5 separate regions of the Homo sapiens genome follow, and regions 2, 3, 4 and 5 are each linked to region 1. The links are contacts of gene promoters, found by promoter capture Hi-C in blood cells and fetal thymus (Javierre and others, 2016). All regions are on one chromosome and are shown on one strand. The core of a region is centred on a gene start or on the middle of the fragment in contact, and the rest is flanking DNA. Distances in the headings are between cores, read along the strand shown.

The links. Contacts are between HindIII fragments. The CHiCAGO score rates a contact against its expected background, and 5 or more counts as called.
Region 2: a contact is called between the fragment with the promoter of CCM2 here and the fragment with the promoter of PGAM2 in region 1, in 1 of 17 cell types (neutrophils). The highest score is 6.6, in neutrophils.
Region 3: a contact is called between a fragment that was not itself captured here and the fragment with the promoter of PGAM2 in region 1, in 1 of 17 cell types (M0 macrophages). The highest score is 5.7, in M0 macrophages.
Region 4: a fragment that was not itself captured here is called in contact with the fragment with the promoter of PGAM2 in region 1 in 2 of 17 cell types (monocytes and non-activated CD4 T cells); the score reaches 6.8 in monocytes.
Region 5: a contact is called between a fragment that was not itself captured here and the fragment with the promoter of PGAM2 in region 1, in 2 of 17 cell types (non-activated CD4 T cells and M1 macrophages). The highest score is 5.7, in non-activated CD4 T cells.

The regions. Positions count from the first base shown.
Region 1 is chr7:44,064,261-44,066,960 of GRCh38, forward strand. It overlaps PGAM2 (phosphoglycerate mutase 2), which reads right to left and starts at 1,307. Exons shown (of 3, transcript NM_000290.4): 1 at 856-1,307; 2 at 572-752. The coding sequence starts at 1,269. It overlaps DBNL (drebrin like), which reads left to right. Exons shown (of 13, transcript NM_001014436.3): 13 at 1-2,700. RefSeq lists enhancers at 644-703, 894-943, 1,004-1,073 and a silencer at 2,254-2,323. The HindIII fragment of the contact is 4,752 bases long and covers 1-2,700 here.
Region 2 is chr7:44,998,938-45,001,637 of GRCh38, forward strand. CCM2 (CCM2 scaffold protein) reads left to right here and starts at 1,264. Exons shown (of 10, transcript NM_031443.4): 1 at 1,264-1,426. The coding sequence starts at 1,397. LOC102723334 (a long non-coding RNA gene) reads right to left here and starts at 1,071. Exons shown (of 4, transcript XR_428139.4): 1 at 781-1,071; 2 at 343-436. RefSeq lists silencers at 531-580, 1,211-1,740. The HindIII fragment of the contact is 6,187 bases long and covers 1-2,700 here.
Region 3 is chr7:44,768,546-44,771,245 of GRCh38, forward strand. It overlaps ZMIZ2 (zinc finger MIZ-type containing 2), which reads left to right. Exons shown (of 19, transcript NM_031449.4): 19 at 1-1,336. Among named protein-coding and RNA genes, the nearest start is that of ZMIZ2, 21 kb to the left of the region's middle. The HindIII fragment of the contact is 2,420 bases long and covers 236-2,655 here.
Region 4 is chr7:44,965,209-44,967,908 of GRCh38, forward strand. It overlaps MYO1G (myosin IG), which reads right to left. Exons shown (of 22, transcript NM_033054.3): 13 at 2,676-2,700; 14 at 2,397-2,529; 15 at 1,464-1,630; 16 at 865-1,072; 17 at 429-652. Among named protein-coding and RNA genes, the nearest start is that of MYO1G, 12 kb to the right of the region's middle. RefSeq lists an enhancer at 850-949. The HindIII fragment of the contact is 1,209 bases long and covers 816-2,024 here.
Region 5 is chr7:44,584,029-44,586,728 of GRCh38, forward strand. No RefSeq gene overlaps it. Among named protein-coding and RNA genes, the nearest start is that of TMED4, 3.1 kb to the left of the region's middle. The HindIII fragment of the contact is 1,147 bases long and covers 848-1,994 here.

The DNA of each region.
Region 1 (2,700 bases), core at 57-2,556:
TCTGGCCACTCCATAGTCCTGCACCCCTCTTTTGATTGGTCTTTCCTTTGCCCAGAGAGGGGCTCCAGAGGGAGATAGGTGGTGAAGCTCATGCAGGGATTCTGAGGACCTGATGGGGGAGGGCCCTGCGAGGGGTCCAAGCCTACATCAAGAGGAATTCAGTACCAGGGGGAGCTCCCCACCACCCCGGAAAAGGGAGAGGCCCAGAGATGGAGGTGGCTTGTCCAGGGCCCCACAGTAAGTTGGGATTTGGAGCCAGATGCTCTAAGCCCAGCCCTTCCGTTTCCTAGCTGGGTGTCCCTTGGCAGATGCCACCTTTGGAGCCTGCCCCACCTCGGGACACAGCGAGCTTCGAGTGCAGTCAGCCCCTGTGGAGTGTGTCCCAGTTACACAGAAATGGGGAAAATTTCACAAAACTAAAAAATGGCTTCTCAGCCCTCCTTTTTCAGTGAATGATGTGGAGCCCCACGCCTAGAAAGCCTGGTCCATGGGCGAGAGACTTTGCTGAGATGAGAAGCCAGCTGGGGCTGCTGCCCACCCACCCTGCCCAGGCTCCTGAAGGTGGCCTCACCTTCCAGGTGCTTGACAATGCCCCGCAGGCTGTTCCCGTGGGCTGCAATGAGCACTCGCTTGCCGGCCTTGATCTGGGGAACAATCTCCTCGTTCCAGAAGGGCAGGGCCCGGGCAATGGTGTCCTTGAGGCTCTCGCAGGTGGGGAGTTCCCCGGGCTTCAGGCCTGCGTACCGACGCTCCTGGGGGACACAGGCACGCTGCTTTCCCTCCCAAGCCAGTGGGCCCCCACCCGACTCCCCACTCTGCAGCTTCCCAGAGGCCTTCCCAGCAAAGGCAGCCCACCTTGCTAATGGAGTTGTAGTAGGGGTGCTTCTCGTCCATCGGGGGCGGCGGGATGTCGAAGGAGCGCCTCCAGATCTTCACCTGCTCCTCCCCGTGCTTGGCGGCCGTTTCTGCCTTGTTGAGGCCTGTGAGGCCCCCGTAATGCCGCTCATTGAGGCGCCAAGTGCGCACCACAGGCAGCCACATCTGGTCCGTGCCGTCCAGGATGGCCCAGAGGGTGCGGATGGCCCGCTTCAGCACTGACGTGTAGCAGATGTCAAACTCCATCTTGGCATCCTTGATGGCCTTGGCTCCCCGCTTGGCCTCCTCGGTCCCCTTTTCACTCAGCTCTGCATCGAACCAGCCACAGAAACGGTTCTCCTGGTTCCATGTGCTCTCGCCGTGCCGGACCATCACGAGGCGGTGAGTGGCCATGGTGGCAGCAGGGACCACAGAGGACTCTGGACGGGGACGGCTGCTTCCCAACACTCCCAGCTTTATAATAGTGTCTTCCCAGCCCCCACCCACCCCAGCCAACTGCCAATCAGCATTCCAGGCGGTGGCAGGTGACCAGTAGCTGAGCTGCTGGGGGCTGGGGGCCAGGGGAGTGTGCAGGCCAAGAGGCTGTGCTTAAAATAGCCCCACGCATCCACCAGCTCCTGGCCTGGGTTCAGGTGGCATGTCTATAACCAGCTGGCACCCAGAGCCCAGACTGAGTGGGGCTGCTGGTCAGGGATGGGCGTGAAGGGCAGAAGTCTGGGCCAGGGGAGATGGGGATAGCAGGGACAGAGGGGCTCTCCAGGGCAACGCTCAGTGGCCTATCAGCCATTCTCTGCTCAGACAGAGGCACAAACAAAATCCCAACCCCTTTCTCCTGTGATTGGCAGCCAGGCTAGGAGGCGGCCCTCAGCAGGCAGAGGAGGAGAGCCAGAGGAGCTGGTGCAGACCACAGCTTTGTGGAGAGGAGTCTGGCCTTGTGGAAGGTACCAGGCAGCAGCAGCAGAATGGGCAAGGGCTGGGGCTGAGCCGGGTTTCCAGGACAAAGGGGGAAAGGGCCCCTGTCTTTCCTCCGGGGTCCCTTTGTCAAGGTCTCATCCATACATGCCCCATGCTCCCACCCTATCTGCCCTCACCCAAGCCACGCTCACTCTCCTAGCCGAAACCACCTTGAAAAAGAGAAATCCAAGGGGGTTTGGGGGCAGGACTGAGGACTGTCAGAAGTCTTGATTGTTAGGTAAATGCTCAGCTTAGCAGGAACCCACAACGTAGGCTGAAGGGTGGCACGGAGTTGAGTCTAGGACCAAGACTTCTGCATTCAGGTTTGGGGGATGAGAGCCACCAAGGCAGGGAAGAGACTATGAGCAATAAAGTCACAATTGGGGCCCTAATGAAGGGGCCATGGCCAGACCCTTGGGCATGGGCCCCATCCAGGGCCTCCCATTTCCTCCCACCCCAGTGACCACACTGTCACCTGCGACACTTCTGATAACAGGAGCGGGTAGGTGAGAGGCCAGCAGAGGGACCACCACTCTGAGACTTGGATCTGAGTGTGCAAGAAACCCTCGACAGGCCTCCCTCCATCCCTGCTGGCCTACCTGGGGAGGGGCTCCTGGCTTGGGGCCTGTGAAGCTAAGGCTCTGTACCCAAAGGTTGGCAGACAAGTCCCAGTGGGCAAAGTCCTGTCGGCTGCCAGGACCCCCAAGGCTGGCAGGTGGAACCCATCCCTCCTAGCAGTGCCATGCGCAGGTCTCACTGTTCCACACTGATCCTGATTGAAGCCACATCTCCTCATCTGCTTTTGTCCCTTTGACCAAGAGTTGATTCACTAGCCCAACTAAACATGACTGAGGACCAGGCTCTGGCAGT
Region 2 (2,700 bases), core at 14-2,513, 930 kb after region 1:
AATTATTAGGCCGGGCGCGGTGGCTCACGCCTGTAATCCCAGCACTTTGGGAGGCCGAGGTGGGCGGATCACCAGGTCAGGAGATCCAGACCATGGTGAAACCCCGTCTCTACTAAAAATACAAAAATTAGCCAGGTGTGGTGGCTGGCGCCTGTAGTCCCAGCTACTCGGGAGGCTGAGGCAGGAGAACGGCGTGAACCCGCGAGGCAGAGCTTGCAGTGAGCCGAGATCCACGCCACTGGCACTCCAGCCTGGGCGACAGAGCAAGGCTCCGTCTCAAAAAAAAAAAAAAACCACCAAAAAAACACAGTTTACATTCTAGCTGTGCTACAAAGTTCTTACCGGCAGATTGGTTTAGTGGCAAAATAGCAGACCTGCTGGTGACTCCAATTTGTAGTGTGCTTTTGGGCGAATCACCTCATTCCCCGGACCTCATCTGGAAAATGTGGAAATTATACCGGATGACTGGTAAGGTTCTACGATTTTATTCTGATAGGGTCTGCACATCCTTGTGGTTGCACTTCTATTTTCCAAATGTGTTTGTCTAAGGCAGGCAGACTTTATAACAGAGAAGTACTAGAAAACGGATTCCCTGTGGCTCAGGGAATAAAGTGGGACACAAGAAAAAAGAAAACCGCACCGCACCCAGACTCTCGGCGGGACGCCCCGCCCCTCAACAGTGGCCGCCTCCTCGCGCCCCTCCTTCGCCATCTGCCGGCCGCGTCCCCTCCCGCCGGCCCCCGTCCCCCGTCCCCCGCCCCCCGTCCCCTTTTCAGAGACCTGAGCTCCGCCTCCCTGGACGCGAGGCAGGCTGGGAAGTCGGCCGCCGTAAAGATGGCGGCAAATTGAAAAAGTTGGAGCTGCTCCCGCGCGCGCTCCCGCGCGCGCTGAGTGGGCGGAGCGAACAGGGGGCTGGACAGGTGCGTTCTCGCGGCCGTGCAGAAGCGAAGTAGGGGTAGGAGCGTTTCCGGCTCTCCTGAAGGACGCGGGGCGGGGTGGGGGTGGTGCAAGGCAGGCGCGTTCTCGGCCGTCCTGAAGGGGCAGGATCTTCAGCCTGTGGGCGGTGCTCTCGCCGTGAGCGGGGCCAACGGGCCGTGTTCTCCCTGAAGGGGCGGGGTCTGATCGCTGCGGGTCGGATTCCCTTGGGCCTGAAAGTGAGGATGAGCGACAACCGTGGGCGGGGCCTGCGCTGGGGAAGGTGGGGCCTGGGCGGGGCGGAGGGGGCTCGGGCCCGGAAGTGCGGGTGTGGGGCGCGGCCGGGGCGGAGACTTCGGGCCCGGCTGGCGGGCGGCGCCGGGAGCGCGGGGGCGGCGGGCCCGGGTCGAGCATGTAGCGGCTGCTGGCGGCGGGGCTCCCGGGGCGGGCCGGGCGGGCCGCGGGAGCCGCACGCGGCGATATGGAAGAGGAGGGCAAGAAGGGCAAGAAGGTGAGCGTGCGCGGGGGCGTCCTACTGCTGTGGTCGGCGGGCGGCTGGGTTGAGGGGCCAGGGTGGGGTGGGCGGGTGTTCCTTGGGGCCCGGGGGGGGGGGCAGTGGGCCAGCTGGCGGGGCGGGGCGGGGCAGGGCGAGACCCCGGACAATGGTCAGGTGGGCTTTCGCGGCCGGGCGGGCAGGAAGCGCCGCGCCTTTCCTCTGGCCCGGGCAGCGGCTCGCCCCGACCTCGGCCCCAGACGGCCTTCCCTGCGCGTCGGGACCTGGGGCTGCAGAGGAAGTGGGCCCGGCGAGGGGCCAGAAAGCTGTCCAGGGCTGGAACTGGAGCTAGTGGGCTGTGTGGTTAACGTGGAGACGTTTGCTGCTCACTGGACTTCGTTTTTGGATATCCAGTAAAAGCAAGGGTGGCCTTCACCTTATGGCCAGCTCACTCGTCCACTATCACTCAGACCTAAAACCATTGATTGATTTTAGTGACGCTAGCTACATTTGGCAGTGGGATTTAGGACATAGTTCATAGTCAAACCCCAGTTTATGTAGTTTTACAAAATGTGGCTTTAATTACAGTAAAGGGTTATAGTAGTCGATAAAGAAACATTTTAAGACTGGAAAAACGATGTGGATTGAACTACCATTAAAGTGGAAAATGGATTTTAATAAAATGTATCTTTTTCAAATAAATGCTTTATAATCTTCACGTCTTGGCTATCATTTTCTTTTTGATGTGTGTGTGCGCACTTTTATCCACAAGTTTAAAGCAGACCTCGATAATTCCTAACTATGATTTTACTACCCTGAACTCTGCAGGGAAGTGTCCTTTAATTGACAGCTACTCACCACCTTGTTTGACAGAGTGCCCCATTTAAAAGTCCTGTTTGAAATAGAATGTAGCCAGGTGGCCTTCAGGGAGTCCTGTGGTGCTGGTTCTCTACTTTCTCAACTCATTGTTTCATGTTAGCACCATGCATGTCTAATTTAGGTGCAGTATAATTTGCGGTTATCTACAAAGATGTTTTAAGTCTGGAAAATAGCTCAAGATAGTGATTCAGCCTGCAGGTGTTAGATTAGAGATGCGTGCTGCGCACAGAAGAGGGAGGAGCCAAGCAGTGTAAAAGGAGTTAGCTGGAAAGGAGAGGTGCTAACCCGGTGGCTGCTTAGTAGGGACCATCAGGCCCGAGTGTGGATGATGCTGAGCTTTGCGGAAAGTGAGCCATGTGCTCTGTGGAATGCCGGGATCCAAGAGCGCGCTAAGGACTGATGACCTCATTGTG
Region 3 (2,700 bases), core at 196-2,695, 700 kb after region 1:
TCTCCACCCCATGGGCCCACACCCAGGTGGGGGAGGAGGAAGCCACTGCATCTGTTGGCTCAGGGCCCCAGCCTGTGCGAGCAGGGCGCCTGGGCTGTTGTGTCTCCTGTCTGTGCCGATCTCTATTAAAGGACTCCCTCTTGGTGGGCCTGGCCGAGTCCCTCCTTTGTGCTCCCAGGGACTATTTTCTCCTCGTAAGCCAGCGACCTGCCTAAAGCTTGGGCTGTGCCTGCAAAGCTTGTGCAGGACCTGGGGGCCAGGTCGACCTTCAAGTGGCTTTTGGGGCCCCAGGTTGAGCTCTGGATGTTTCAAGCCAAGGCTCGGCTATTCCCGCCCCATAGTAAATTTCCTTTTCCCTGGAATTTTCCAAGTTGGCTTCAGCTGAAGAGCTGTTTTGTGAAGCATCCCAGGCTTGCCCAGGAGAGACATTTGCCACTATGTCACCTTATCTGGGCTTGCCCTGGGGCACTGAGACAGTTGTTTGGCAGCCCCAGCCCAGCCAGGGGCTCATCCTTCTCAGCTCTTGTCCCTGGGAGGCCTCTGCTTGTCACTTCCCAGAGATTGCAGAGGTGTGTCCTGCCTACCATCTGCCTGTCCAGCTTGGTGGGGGTCCGGGTCACCATTTCCTCCAGTCCTGGGCCCCATCCTTGAGGGCCTTCCCAGCCAGCCAGCAGGAGAGGCAAGAACTGGGGGAACACAGGAACCTAGGGGAGGAGGGGAGCGCTGGGCATCCTCAGGCTGGCGGCCAAGGCCTGCCCCTGGAGGCACTAGAGGAGGGCATCTGTCTGTGGGAGCCCAGAGGCTGCAGGGAGGAGGAGGAGGGAGGTATCTGGTGTGAGCGTTGCCCCTGCGACATTTGGGACCACACAGGTGGGCTTCCTTATTCCCTGACAAAGCCTCTGTTTCCAGCTCTTCCGCCCTCTCTGGATGAGGGAACAGAAGTGGAGGAAACAAAAGAAGCAGCAGCACGCACAGTCCTGTCGCTGGGTGCGGAGACAGCCTGGCAAAGTCCCACTCAGCCATGGCCTGATGCAGGCCCCAGGCCCTCCTTTCTTGGGTGTCAAATGACTGTGTCCTGGACATCTGATGCACCACCTGCCCTGCCTGTTGCAAACGTGATGCTCCCGGATGGAGTGGAGAAACTAGGAGACTGGGACAAGCAAAAGGCTGCAAACAACCCAGAAGCCCATCCTCAGAAGACTGGAGAAATGATTGAGGAATGCATGGGCACCGTGGCCCTGTGCTCCATCACAAACACCTCTCAGAAACAACGTGGGATGAAAAAGCAAGACAGTTCATACAGTATGATGCCATTTTTATAAAGCTCAAAACCAAATATGTGTGGAATTCATACCCAGGTGCTAAAGTCATCAGGGAGGGCAGGGAGTCAGTACAACACAGTGCTCACCCGTGGGGAGGGGACGGAGCTGTGCTTAGGGAAGAGCAGAGATGCTGGAGGTTTTGAACCTCAGGGTCAGTGGTGGCTTCGTGGGTTTCACTTTGTCGTACTTTCTGTTTCACACATTTTCTTGTGAATGTGCCAAGTATTACATAAAAACCAAAAGGCTGACCAGACTTAACAGTGCTCCACCCAATAGCAGCAGAACACACGTTTCTAAGTGCACAGGGAACGTTCTCCAGGACAGACCACACGTTAGTGCACAAAGCAAGTCTCAGTAAATTAGAGATCGGAATCCTGCAAACCACCTTCTCCAATCACAATGGAATAAAACCAGAAATCCATACCAGAAGGAAAATGAAAATTCACACATACATAGAAATTGAACACACTTTTTAACAGCCAAAGGGTCAAAGGAGAAATCACGAGAAAAATTAGGAAATAGAGATGGATGAAAACAACATACCAGAACTTAAGGAATGCGGCAAAAACTGCTCTGAGGGAAATTTATAGCTGCAAATGCCAACATTTAAAAAGATGCGACATCTTGGCTGGGTGTGGTGGCTCACGCCTGTAATCGCGGCACTTTGGGAGGCCGAGGCAGGCAGATCACCTGAGGTCAGAAGTTCGAGACCAACCTGGCCAAAGTGGTGAAACCCTGTCTCTACTAAAAACACAAAAATTAGCCAGGCGTGGTGGCTCACACCTGTAATCCCAGCTATTCACGAGGCTGAGGCAGGAAAATCACTTGAACCCAGGAGGCAGAGGTTGCAGTGAGCTGAGATCATGCCATTGCACTCCAGCTTGGGTGACAGAGTGAGACTCTGTCTCAAAACAACAACAAAAAAATTCCTAGAAAGATACAAATGACCAAAATTGTCCCAGGAAAAATAGAAAATCTGAACAGGGCCAGGTGCAGTGGCTCACACCTGTGATCCCAGCACTTGGGGAGAACTAGTTAGGAGGATGGCCTGAGGCCAGGAGTTCGAGACCAGCCTGGGCAACAGAGACCCTGCCTCGACAAAATCTTTAGAAATCAACCAGGTGTCATGGCACGTGCCTGTAGCCCCAGCTACTTGGGAGGCTGAAGCAGGAGGATAGCTAGAGCCCAGGAGTTCAAAGCTGCAACGACCTATGACAGCACCACTGCACTCCAGCCAGGAATGAGGCAGAGACAGAGACCTGACCTCAAAAAAAGAAGAAAAAGGAAAAAATCTGAACCAACCTAAAACACATAGGTAGAACCAGTCATCAAAAGCTTCCCAACAAAAGAAAAGCCCAGGACCAGATGGTGAATTCTA
Region 4 (2,700 bases), core at 170-2,669, 900 kb after region 1:
CTCTGCCGGCCTCTCTGGCCTTGGCCCCTTGTGCCTAACGCTTGTTCCTGGAAGGTGACCCAGGGACCAGCAGTCGCCCAGTGTCCTCCTGTTCTGAGCATGCTCTGTGCCCCTCCTTCTGGAGAACTCCTACTCAGCCCTCAAGACCCCGCTCAGATGCAGAATCCCCTTACTTCCCAGCCCTAATGGGCCTCCCCCTGCAGGCTGCAGCCCTGGACCTTGAATGCCCACCACAGTACCCAAGATGGTCAGGGCTCTGCACCAACTGTGGGACATGAGCAGTCAGCTAATGTGGCATAGCATCCACCTTCCCACCTATCAAGGGGGCTGGTGTATCTCCCATCCAGGCACTGCAGGCCCGGGATGATGGGTTAAGGTATTCAGTGGATGCCAGCTGAATGGAATGTGTGGTGGGCTGAGAGTAGTACCTGCAGAAGAGTGCGTGGCAGGTGTCCTGGAAGGGCTGCAGCACAGCAGGGGGCAGCGGCCACACAAGGTCACGCCCGTAGAGTGGCGGCTGCCTTGCAGCCTGGAATCGCCGCTGCAGCTCAGCCAGGTGAGCCCGCACCTTGTGTCTCCGGAACCAGCGCATGATGGTGTAGATAGCCCTCAGCCTCCGGCAGCGCCACCTCGCCAAGGTGCCCCGCCATGCCTGGGTGGGCCAGGTGGGATGGGATACGCAGTCAAATTCAATCAGGCCCTAACCCTTAGACCCAAACCTGGCCCTGAGCATTTATTGAGCACTCCCTGGCCTGTCTCCATCAAGCAGAGACTCCTGTGAAACTTACAAGTGTGTTTGTGGCCCCTGGGACACAAGCTTTCCCCACCTCCATAGTGGATGTCTTCCTGCCCCGCCCACCTCACCTTCTGCAATAGCAGCACAATGATGGGGATGAGGCGGGCTCGGCTCTGCTCCAGTGTGACCAGTGTCCGGGGTGAGCGGATGAACAGCTTGCTGTGGCCAAAGGCCACGTCCCCCTGCAGCCCGTGCTGCTCCAGGAGAGCGCTCACGGCTGCCTTGTCGGAGCCCAGCAGGTGGTTGGGCCATGTGTATTCACAGGTCATCTTGTACCTGTCACCACAGGACAGGGCAGTGTGGCCCAGGCCTGGGGGAGAGATGATGGAGCCCACCCTGCCCACCCCACACCTGGGGAGATGGCAGGGATACAGAGTGTGTTCCTGGAGCACTTATGACACCTGTGCACATATGTCTTCCCATACACATGTCCTCACATACATGTCCTCACACAGCCCTCATACCCATGTTCCCACCTGTATGTCCCCACATGCATGTGCTCACACACATGTCTTCCCAGATATTTTGGTGTCTTGAGGCCAGCAGCGTGCTGGTTCCTGCTTGTATCGATGTTTGCGACGTGCTGTTTGGGGACCCTCTGCTCCTACCCCTTGGACTCCACACAGGGACTATGGCCCATGGAGTGATGGGTGTCAGGTGCCAGTACCTGAGCAGGAATCGAGAGTAGGGCTGGCGGGAAGCGAAGCCAGCCCTGCGGACCCTCACATTCTCCAGCAGCCCCAGGTATGCGACCTGGTGGCGACAGTGGTTCTCATCCAGCTTCCCAGCTACCTTGTCCTCATTGGGCTTGATGCAGCGGACGTAGAAGGGCTCCTGCAGGGACAGAGGGGACTTGGAGAGGGTCTGCGCCAGCAGCACTGTGCACCCTGCCCCACACCAGGGGCTTCCTAACCCCTCAAGGTCCCAGGCCAGGAGAAGAGTTGGGAACAAAGAAGGGAAATCAGCAGAACAAGGGCCCTGGAAGCCCTAAGTGCTGGGCAGAGGCCAGCAAGGCCAGGTTCAGAGCCAGGTTCCAGCCCCTGGTCGGGGGGTGGGGAGGTGGGCGTGGCAGGGGCAGGAGCAGGCCTCGCCCCATCTGCCTTCCTTCTCTCCTTCCAAAAGGGGCTGACATCTCTGGATGTTCTGTAGTTAAGCTCACCCTAACATGTCCTCTCCCTGACCCTTCACCTGTTCCTCTTCTGACTTTTGACCCAAAGCTCCCCAAGAAAGCTTGTGCCAGTTTCCTGTCTCTCTGGCCCCACCTGCCAGAAGAATCCTGGGTTTTTGCCAAGAGCTGGGCTGGGCCAAGCCAGCCTCTCAGCAGGGTCTCCCCAAACCCCTCCCTGTTCAAGAGACAATGGGGCGAGGAGAAGCCTGGGTTCCCCATGATTGATCAAGCCTCAGCCCAGCCCCTGAGGCCCCACATCTCACCTGTGCAGTGGGTGGGGTCCACTGCTGGAGCAGATGTGGCTCATACAGACAGGACAAGAACCCTCTCCCCACCACTATGATGTACAGAGGTGGTTGGGACCCTACTTGGCACCGAGGGCACAGAGAGAAGGATCCGGAACAGCCAGAGTGGGAGAGGGGTGGAACATACCTTGGAGGCAAGGTTCTCCACCAGGGCCACCATGGAGTTCTTGAAGAGTGTGCCAGCCGTCAGGGGGCGCTTGGTCACCTCTGTGATGTCCTGCTGCCCGTCCGGCCACATGGCCCGTAGAGTGGGGTCCGTGCTGCAGACACAGGCCGAATTCCCAGCCATCCTCTGGGAGAGCAGCCCCACCCACCCACGTCCTGACGCTAGTCAATGCCTGACCCCAGAGTCTCTGGGGCCCCAGGGCCCTGGCCCTCCCTATGGTGCCCAGCAAGCCGTGCTCACCTGTTGTACAGCAGCCGCTTGAAGT
Region 5 (2,700 bases), core at 171-2,670, 520 kb after region 1:
GGTGTGGTGGTGCACACCTGTAATCTCAGCTACTTGGGAGGCTGAGGCAGGAGAATTGCTAGAATCAGGGAGGTGGAGGTTGCAGTGGGCTGAGATGATGCCACTGTACTCCAGCCTAGGCAACAGAGTGAGATTCTATCTCAAAACAAACAAAAACAGGGCCGGGCGCAGTGGCTCACACCTGTAATCCCAGCACTTTGGGAGGCCAAGGTGGGCAGATCACGAGGTCAGGAGTTCGAGACCAGCCTGGCCAATATGGTGAAACCCTACCTCTACCAAAAATACAAAAATTAGCTGGGTGTGGTGGTGCTCACCTGTAGTCCCAGCTACTTGGGAGACTGAGGCAGAAGAATCGCTTGAACCCAGGAGGCAGAGGTTGCAGTGAGCCGAGATCATGCCACTGCACTCCAGCCTGGGTGAGAGAGAGACTCGTGTCCAAAAAAAAAAAAACAAACCATATAACAACATATATATATATTATACATATTATATATATATTATATATATAAATTTCCCCTCTCTTTTTGTTGTTTGTTATTCATGGCATTTACTTATTGAAGAAACTGGGTCATTTGACCAACAGAATTTTCCACTTTCTGGGTTTTGCTGATTGTATCTTCAGGTGTCATTTAACGTTTTTTGTCCCTGGTATGTCCTGTAATCACAGTTAATTCTAGAGTCAGGGGAGGTTTACAGTGAAACTAATGAAGCTTAATCTTCAGGCCCTCCCTTGCATAGACCCCCGTACCTAATTTCGCATTTATAATTTTGTGTCTTTTTCTTAAAGAGGACTGTGAAATTTGTATAGTTTAAGGCCCCACAAAGCTTGGATTTGCCCCTGGCTAGAAGCTTCATTAGGTTTAGGTGTAATGTTGAGGTTTGGGTTTTTTTGTTTTGTTTTGTTTGCAATAACGCTTCGTGGCTGGCACTATGTACTTCTACTGAGGCACAAGGCGGGTTTGTCTCTTAGTAATATTGTAATTCATCTCTCAATTTGGGGGTTGTCATCCTGATTATCCATGAAGTTTACCATCAGCCTTTCTTCTAATAGTCTAGCAAACGTTGATGATCATTAGACCATTGGTTCTCAACGAGGGTTGATTCTGCCCTGTCCTACCAAGGGGAAATTTGGCAATGTCTGGAGATATTTTGGATTGTTGCAACTGGGTGGGGGGTGGCGGGTGGTACTGCTGTTATCTAGAAAATGAATGCAAGGAATACTGCTAAACATTGTATAATTCACAGAGCACACCTCCCCCCCACAGCGAAGAATTATCCAGCTCAAAATGTCAGTAGTACCCAGGTTGAGAAACCCTAGTGTAGTTTTATGATGTTCCTTAGGTGTGCAAAGTGGTAATTTCAAATGCTCTCATTTCTCCTGCATTTATAAGATGAGATTCTTCTACAAAGGTGAGCATTCCCTCATCTCTCTGGTTACTTTGAAATACAATCCATTCGGGATAGCCAGGATGTATGCTTGATGCTTTCCCACGCACAGTGGCTCTGCCTATAATCCCAGCACTTTGGGGGGCCAAGACAGGAGGACTGCTTGAGCCCAGGAAATGGCAAGATCTTTACAAAATATGTAAAAATTAGACAGGCATGGTGATGCATGCCTGTAATTCCCGCTACTTAGGAGGCTGAGGCAGGGAAATGGCTGGAGCCCAGGAGGTTGAGGATACAGTGAGCCGTGATGGGACGACAGCACTCTAGCATGGGTGACTGAGTGAGACCTTGTCTCAAATAATAGTAATAATAATAAAGATGGATGGATGGATGCCCCAGCAACCTCTAACTGTGACCACTTTGGGTTCTTTGGGGAGAAGGGGCAGTGCTATCATGAATTGATGGATGTTTAGATATTTGATGTGCTTTAATCCATTACAGTCATTGTCCTTTTTTAAATGTTCAGATTGTCTCATCAAATATTTAGTTGCTGCTGTGTCCTTCTGGCACAATCCTAGTAATCCACAATCCTAGTAGTCTTTAGGTCAAGCTTGTCCAACCTGTGGCCCATGCAGCCCAACACAAATTCATAAACTTTCTAAAAACATTATGAGATTTTTTTTTTTTTAGCTCATCAGCTATTGTTAGTGTATTTTATGTGTGGCCCAAGACAATTCTTCTTCTTCCAGTGTGGCCCAGGAAAGCCAAAAGATTGGACACCCTGGACTTCCTTGCTTTCCGTTTTATACATTTACTGCCCAGAAACAAAACCAACCATTTCTCCAAGGAACCCTAATTCACTTTAGTGAGAAATGGTATTTGTATTGGCAAACTTATTTTCTTTCTTTTTTTTTTTTTTTTTAAGGAGGATCCTGAAATTTGTCTTAACTGAGAGATAATATTAAAGAGATTGTATTCTCCACTGCAGAAAATTTAACTTAGGAGGTGAGGCACTGTGGCTCATGCCTGTAATCCCAGCATTTGGGAGGCCGAGGCAGGAAGATCGCTTGAGTCCAGAAGTTCAAGACCAGTCTGGGCTACATGGTGACACCCTGTCTCTACCAAAAAAAAAATTAGCTGGGCATGGTGGCATGGGCCTGTAGTCCCAACTACTCGGGAGGCTGAGGTGGGAGGATTGCTTGACCCCCAGGAGGTTGAGGCTGCAGTGAGCTGTGATGGTGCTGCTGCACTCCAGCCTGGGCAACAGAGTGAGACCCCATCTCCAAAAAAGAAAGAAAATTTAACTTAGGGAGT